Linked DNA regions of Homo sapiens: region 1 is linked to region 2. Evidence: promoter capture Hi-C in 16 types of primary human blood cells and fetal thymus (Javierre and others, 2016). All regions are on one chromosome and are shown on one strand. The core of a region is centred on a gene start or on the middle of the fragment in contact, and the rest is flanking DNA. Distances in the headings are between cores, read along the strand shown. Region 1 holds the start of LOC105371777 (a long non-coding RNA gene). Region 2 holds the start of KRTAP29-1 (keratin associated like protein 29-1).

The links. The method cuts DNA at HindIII sites, captures the fragments that hold promoters and counts their contacts. A CHiCAGO score of 5 or more calls a contact.
Region 1: a contact is called between a fragment that was not itself captured here and the fragment with the promoter of KRTAP29-1 in region 2, in 3 of 17 cell types (endothelial precursors, M1 macrophages and M2 macrophages). The highest score is 6.8, in endothelial precursors.

What each region holds. Positions count from the first base shown.
Region 1 is chr17:40,849,881-40,853,866 of GRCh38, forward strand. LOC105371777 (a long non-coding RNA gene) reads left to right here and starts at 918. Exons shown (of 3, transcript XR_934754.3): 1 at 918-980. The HindIII fragment of the contact is 2,913 bases long and covers 404-3,316 here.
Region 2 is chr17:41,300,839-41,305,034 of GRCh38, forward strand. KRTAP29-1 (keratin associated like protein 29-1) reads right to left here and starts at 2,013. Exons shown (of 1, transcript NM_001257309.1): 1 at 988-2,013. The coding sequence starts at 2,013. The coding sequence ends at 988. The HindIII fragment of the contact is 6,603 bases long and covers 1-2,793 here.

The DNA.
Region 1 (3,986 bases), core at 610-3,109, 450 kb before region 2:
TATTACCTCCCTTTTCCAAACTTCTGTGGCAGGTCACTTTATACCTGGCGAGGCAAGGTTATTTGCATACCTGACTAGTCCGCTCCCATTTGCTTCCATAGTGACCAGTAAATATTAGTTTGATTGAGAGAAAAGTGTATTTTACTTATTTTTAATTTTTATTCCTAACTGCTAGACCACCAAAGAGAGAGAGCACAATGTTTTTTAGATAGAACACCTCGTTATTAAGGGAGAACAAGTTCTATTTTGATCTAGATTGGCAGGAGTATTACATTTTCAGACTGAATATTTTCATGGAAAGCCAGTGTTCCATCAGCCATTTTAAGATAACTCAGTTTTGTATCTATGGTTAGGCGATTGCCTACATACAAAGCACACTTTAATGACGAATTAGAGGATTCCAAGCTTGCCTTTATAAGTGAATATCTACAGATTTTTTTTTCTTATAAATACTACATGGAAACCAAGTTACTCTATGTTTTGAAAGCAACTTCTAGTACTCTTTAGATGTATGGGAAAAAGTCCTCAGGTTAATTTCCTTAAGAAAAAGCGTCATGAATTAAAAGACTGCTTGTTGAAACTGAAGATCACTTTCTACTGAGTCACCAGATATTGAGCAATATGATTTATATCAATATGCCTTGTGAAATTGTCAAGTTAAAGATTGTACATATTAGATAAGAAAATTTTGTGTCCCTATAGAGTGACAAGTATCTTGAGGGTTTTCTGGAAATATTGAATTCAACAAATATCTCAGTAAAATGCAAACAACTTCTTGATGGATTTTTTAGTCTCAAACAGCCAGCCTAATTCCTTTATTAAGATTTAAGGAGAAGGAAGTAAGTGGAATTCAATTTCATATGACGCAAGCATATTTTAAATAGAGTAACCAAAACAAATAGATTCAAATGGAATCTATGCAAACCATCCTCTTTGCTTCCTTTGTGATGGACACTCCTTAGCTTCTGCGCCTTAATAAGGTAGGGTTTGTTCATTCAGTCTTTCCAAAGATAAGTGTTGGAAAATTTAGAGTTAATAAATCAGTGGATAAAAATTCAATGACTATTTCAAGAAAATAATAGAAGAAATATATCGCCACCATTCAATGTTTGTGCAACCAGTGTTTATTGAGTGCTTTTAATGGTACCTAGAGAGTAATACAGGTGGTCAAGCACAGTGGCTTATACCTGTAATCCAAGAACTTTGGGAGGCTGAGGTGGACAGATTGCTTGAGCCCAGGAGAGTAATACAGGCATTATTCCAGCTTTTACTGAGTGAATATTCTAGCATTTGTACGTAATTCTGTGCACAGGTATTCAACAAGTATTGATTGTCTCCTATGCAGTAGGGTATATGTGCTGTTTTATGCACTGTGCTAGATGCCAGGGCTACAGTGGAGGGCAAAACAGACATGGCCGCTGCCCTTAGAGAGAATGCAGTGGTAGAGCCAGACATTATTTCAATATTCATACAAATAAATGTATAATTGCAAATTGCGCTAAGAGCTGTGAAGGATAACTACAGTATAGTATGAGAAGGTAGAATAGGAGAACCTGACTTGGTTAATGAGGGGCATTTGAGTTAGGACCTAACTGGTGACTAGGATTGTTAACTAGGCCAAAATGGGGGTGGAGGCTCATTCTAGGTAAAGAGGGAAAGTTTGTGAGAAGCTGCCAGAGTGGGAAGGAGCATGGCGTTAGAATTTACTTGACTGTAGTATTGCTGTCACTCAGTATATGTATATCAAAACCTCATATGCTGTATATCTTAAATATATACAAAAATAAAGTAAACAAGACCAGTAGGTTTGGAGAAGATAGAGGGGGAGAGAGGGCACACGATTTGAAAGAGGGTAGAGGGGGCCAGGCCAGGCCATACCTTGCTGGGTTTTGGTCTTTATTCCAAGGACAATAGGAAGCCTTTGAAGGCCTTTAAGCAATGGAGTGACTGGATCAGCTTTTTCAAAATGATCCCCCCAGCTCTGGTGGAAAGAGTGGAAGAGAGGTGGGTACAGGTGGAAGCTGTGTGGTCAGCCAGGAGAGAGACATAAATAGTGGCTTGGATGAGGAGGCAAAATACCAGATATGGCCAGGATATGTATAGGTATCTGTTGAATGAATGAATAAATAAATCTAGGGTCAGGAGACTTGGAGCTTGACCTAGTTAAAAAGCTACAATTGAAAGATTTTTAGATCAACATTGATAGAGGAATAATTTTTCTTTGATTGTTTAGTTAAAGTTCAATTTAACTGAAAGGTAAAAGCCAGTTAAAATAATGCTTTATTATTTGATTTTTTTTTCTGACAAAATGAAACATAATTTAAATGATCCATAGTGATCCTAAATAGATTTTTAGTTCAGAGATAAATTATCATAAGGACATAAGATGTTTGGATATATGTGTATAGCAAGTGTTTTATGATACATATTCTACATGTTGGGAATGTAGTTTTATATGATTAAGTTTTCAGAGTGCCAATGCTTTGGAAAGTGCAGCTAAAAAGTCTCCCTGTGGACAAATTGGCAAATAATTGTGTAACCTGCTACTTCAGCTTTGTGTCTTTGGTGTTATAATATTATATTGTCCTTTAGCTCCTCAGAAATGATCTCCTCTTTAATGCAACTGTTACCTGTGTACCCTGGAGGTGACAGATAATCATGATAATGATGACTAAAACTTTCATCAGGTTCTCCTCCCTACTGAGACCTTCCTTTCCCTTGAGCAGTTCTTGTCTTCCCACTGGCCAGCGTTCAGTTCTATCTCCTTCAGCTCTGCAAGCTGTAAAAACACCTTCCATAGTCACACAGGGGAACTGAGTAAAATTCTCCTAACTTCACATCACCTGAAGGACTTTTTCTTACCCCTAGCCTCTGAGTAATAACACTGAGAAGGACTTCATTGTTGTGCTTTCCTATAACACCACTGCTGGATTCTGATTAGCCTGGATCTAATTCTGTAGTACTAATTTTTGTTCCAGGATTATCTCTATTGGATGCTGATTATATATATTTGTATTTTTTAAATGATAAACATTTATTTTATTATTTGTCAGCCTACTCAGTCATATATTAGATAGGCTAGGGAAGTTTAACATTAAAATTATCATCCAGAATCAGCACATAAGGCTGTTTAAAATGGGTATCCAGTGAAAACACCGTAAAGCACCTTGGGAGGTACTTTTTATCCAATGTAAATTGTAATATACAATGTAAAAACTGTATGAAACTTTATCATGTATTTGCCTTTAGATCATAAAAACTGAGGTTATTTTCAATAGACTATGTAGAGTCTTACATATAGTTGGTGCTAAATAAAAGCTTGTTGAAGGAATTGAAGCCATCCTCACAGAATTAAGAATTCTGGGCAGAAATGTAGTTATAATTAAGCTTTAACCAGGCTGCACTTTGACCCACTTCCTTGTAACTAAACATCACATAACCTTAGATTCTGACCATTTGCATCCCCATTGTTCCTGTAGATAGAAATTCTAATGTTAGAACCATGAGGCTTTTGTTTAAGAATTGCTTAAACGGATCCTGAATTACTGTGGAACTGCTAACGCCAACCAATTTAAAGACTCCCACAGACAAACCAAATGAGCATGAGAGTACAGTTTCTTTCTCTCCCTGTCCTGGGACTTCACCCTGTACTCTTCAACTAATCAACAATCTCTATGCTTTGGCTCACTCCAAAACTCTTAAAAACCCTCGCCCCAGAGTCCCCGGGAAGATGGATTTGGGGTTTTCTCTTTTCTCCTCATTTGTTGGCCTTACCATTAAACCTCTGTCTCTGTTGCAACCTGGTGCCTCTGGGTATTGACTTGCTGTGAACATCCAGGCAATGAACCTATTACAGCTACAGAATGAATACACAAATAAATGCATATGTGATGCCCCACTTGTATACATAAATAAGCCAGCGGAGAAAACCAAACACCACATGTTCTCACTCATAAATGGAAGTTGAACAATGAGAACATGTGGAC
Region 2 (4,196 bases), core at 763-3,262:
GTGACAGAAAAATGTGAACTATGAAGATTTGTTTGCTAGTTACCAAATTATTGCTGCTCACCTACAGGTACACCCTTCATTGCCTGCTCTATGATAATACAAAGGGATCCTATGAATATTTCTCCTTAGCCAGCTGACACAATGTCCCAGGCAGGAGAATCGCTTGAACCCAGGAGGCAGAGGTTGCGGTGGGCCGAGATCACGCTCTTGCACTCCAGCCTGGGCAACAAGAGTGAAACTCTGTGTCAAAAAAAAAAAAAAAAAAAAAAGAATCTTAAATGAATTAACCCTAAGCTATTCTCTATGGCCAATACCTCATGTTTGTTTTCATCTGTGGCTTTCCAGAACCATTTTTGTTGTTGGCTTCCTGTCTACTCACTATAGGGAAAATGAGCCCACTCAGCTCAAAAGAACTCTTGGTGGTGAAAATTTTGGAAGCCAGTGAACTGTTTGCCCTTACTCTCGTCCAGCTGGAGAATCTATAATCCTAGACACTAGCTACCCTTGCAGACCAATGCAGACCCACTGACTTAGATGACTCAGGCTCATTGTGTTCAAATGTGACCTGAAGGAAATCTACATAGAGGTGTGTGTAGGAATGAAAGCACTCCAGGAGTCTTATTTATTATACTTAACCAGTCACATTTTTATTAGCAGCTGGCAGCAACGAGGTCTTCTGAAAGACCAGGCAGCATCAAGAAAGAGAAACAAGAGAGGGTTTGCTAAAGTGAAATGAATTGACATCATCAGGAAATGCAAGCAGCAGTGTGGTAGTCCATGGTTGCTGAAAGGTTATTCTCGGTTAAGAAGGATCTCTTCGTGCCTGGACAAGTTCCCTGGTCAGCACCTGGAGAGAATGTGAAGGTGGAATCAGGGTAAAGTTAGAAAGCAGGCAGCATTTGTACTCGGTGGGAGGCAGGCACCCAGGGATGGCTATGCATTTATAGACAGCCGCAGACCCTCAGAGGAGGTGTGAAGAGGGCTCCATTAACAAAGTGTTGCCTTGCAGAAGCTGGACTCACAGCTGGGTTGGCATGAAGTCGGCAAGCAATTGGAGCCACTACTGGGTGATGTGCCTAAACCAGTCACACAGCAAGCTGATTTGCAGCCACTCTGGTTATAGGAAGGGGGTCCATCACAAGTTGGTTGGCCAGAAATCACAGTGTCACAAGAAGCTGGTTTGCAACAGTTCTTTGTGGAACAAGGGGCCTGGCAGTTAGCCACTGGCTGGTAGATGAAGCATGTGGAAGGAACCAGTTGGCAGTGAGGTGGCTGGCAATGGGAAGGCACACAGCAAGTAGTATTGCAAGAACTGAACACACAAGTCGATGGCTGGCAGGGAACAGGCATGTAGAGGGCTGATTGGCAAGGCTTGAAAATATAGCAGATGGGTTGATAATAAGTTGATTTACAGGGCTGGCCTTCACCACTGACGGGTTGACATGAACTTCCTTGGCACCAAGTTGGTTGGCATGGACTAGCTGTACAGATGGTTGGTAGGCAAGAAGTTTCCGGACAGGAGGTCACTTCAGAGCAGGATGGCTGGCAGGATCCAGCATCACAGCAGACTGATTGGCCACAAGCTGCCTGACATGATCCAGACATGCAGACAGATTCCTGGCAGGAGCTTTGCTGGCAGGGACTGGCATCGCAGCACTTTTCCTGACAACAAGTAGATTCCGAGCAGGATGGCTGACATGAGCTAACCAGACAAGGAGACTGACCAGTGCCAGACTGATAGCAGGCTGCGTGGGAGCACATAGGTTGGCAAACAAAACCCACACAAGACGTTGCTGGAAGGCGGGTAGGTTGACACGAAGCAGGATCACAGCCACTTGGGGCACCAATGGATGGCTGACAGCTTTCTTGGCATGTGACCAGTTGCCACATTCTGCTGTGGCAGGAACTAGGCAAACAGAGAGCATGTCGAAATCCACCTTTAACTGGGTATGTGGTGATGGTGGGCACAGCTGGAATGGCTGTGGTGTTTCCAGGACAACAGCCGTCTGCCATGGTGCTGGTGCTGACCTTGCTGGGAAGTTGCAAGCTCAGTATACCTGCATTGGAAAGACATCCGATACAGAGGGGCTTTTATAGTCCTTCACTAGGGGTGTTGGCACGCCATGCAGCATCTTTCCTTGTTATTGTTTTTACTCATTTGCATGCAAACATCTGATTAGCAGGCTTCAGGAGCCTGGGAGATGTTTCAACTTTGAAAAGGTGTCTGTTGAGTCGGGAGTTTTCTGCGCTGCATTTGGATTCGTTGACACTGCTCCTGCTCTTGGATGAGCTGTCTCTTTTACAGGTTGCTCTCCAGCCTCACTGAAGCAGGCCTTTCCTGGCACTAACCTTTCATCAGGAGGCCTCTGCCAAGCCAGAGTGGCCCTGCTGTTCCTCCAGGAATGCAGCTTTGCACCATTCAATCAGAAATGAAGCCTTGACCCAGTTTGGGGAGAGGATGTCAAGACGGGAAATGGAAAATTAGTCCAAGGAACCCAGGGACACTTAAGTGCCTCTACCTCTTTTTAAAACCTTCCCATTTATCATTCCTGAAACTTGTTTACTAGTACTATTACTAATAATAACAATAGAAATGGCTTTCATTTATTGCATAGTTACTAGATCAAGTCCTTGGCTGCATTTTTCACTGGATCCTCACAATGACTTCAGTAAGTATAATTGTCATCACTATGTTAGAAGTGGCAAAACTAAAAAAAAGTAATAAATAAAGAAGAAACCAGGTTTAAAACAAAGTTAAGATTAAAATATAAAACTTCATTGGCCCTTTTAGGAAGCTTAAAATCTCCCCCAAATTGGTTCCTCTCAAGATTTTTTTAGAACAGAAAAGAAGAAAACAGAAGTGGCAAAACTCATAGAGTTTAAATCATGTTCCCAAAATTATGCAAATGAAAAGGGGTAGAAACAAAATTCAAACCTAGCTTTGTCTGACCACCAAACCCCTGATCTTAACCACCTATTAGACCCCCTGACTTTGGGGAGGCAGGGAGAAGGCGACACTGATATAGTGGCTGCAGGCTGACACCCCTATGGCAACAGACTGGCTCGTGAGCAGGTTGCCCAGGCCCCATCCTGGGGATCCTCCGCCCACTCCAGTGACTGTAATCAGCAGCTAGACCACACTGGTGTGAGTACTTACCTCTACTTATCAATACACTCAAACACAGTCTTTTAATTTTGGAAATTTTTTAAACTACCAAATATTTCATCAGGAAGTATCAAACCCACCCTAGGGCATCAATAGCATATGAATTCTATACAAATAAAAACACGCCAGCAGTGATAATAAAAAAAATCACTGTAAAGTGGTGTTAATGTTAAACCAATCCCTTCCAAGAGGAATTCGTGAGGGACTTTCTTGGCCCTTCTGCTTTTCCTCCGGGCTTGTCCTGGCTCCGCATCACCAACCAGGTCCGGTGTTCTACACCAGCCAACGTTCTGGCCGGTTCACGCTGGAGGCACATGACGGAGTGGAAAGATCACGGTGTGGGGAGCCAGATGGGGCTGGCCTTGATTTCTGGCTCTGCCACTAACTCATTCTGTTGAATATGTTAGCTAATTACCTAAGTCTTCAAAGTATGGCGATTTCATCAACTGCGTTGTCATGTCTCAGGTTAGTTTTTTGTGGGTGTTTGTTTGCTTTGGTTGCTTCACAAATTATTGAAAATACTGAAAACGCTGAAGGGTACTTTGCAAACCCCCAGCTACAAAATGCCTTCTCCTTGGCACCCTCTTCACCTCCATTTTAAAAAGAAGAGAAACATTTTTGATCAGAACAATGTCTGGAAAACCTTCTCCCCTGCCATTGAAATGCCTTTTTCCCCACAGTTGGTTTCTATGTCACACCATGGATCACTTCTTTTGCCCTCCTTCTTGTCTGTATTCATGTTGGCATCTTTCAATCTGCAGGAATCCATGCACTGTGTTTTATTGCTGAATATTTACCCCCAAAGCTCTTCATCTTCCCAGAGGATGTATTTAATACTTTCAGTCTTACCAAATATGTCAATCAAACTGGGAACATGAGCATGTTTGAAAAATCACATCAACTTCAGTCCAATATCCTATACCACTTTTATAGTTTTAAAGCAATCCATTCTACATCCATTTTTCTCTAAGTGATTCTGCTCTTGTTTTCTTTTCTCCTAAAGGAAACTCTTAATAGCAAGAACATCTGT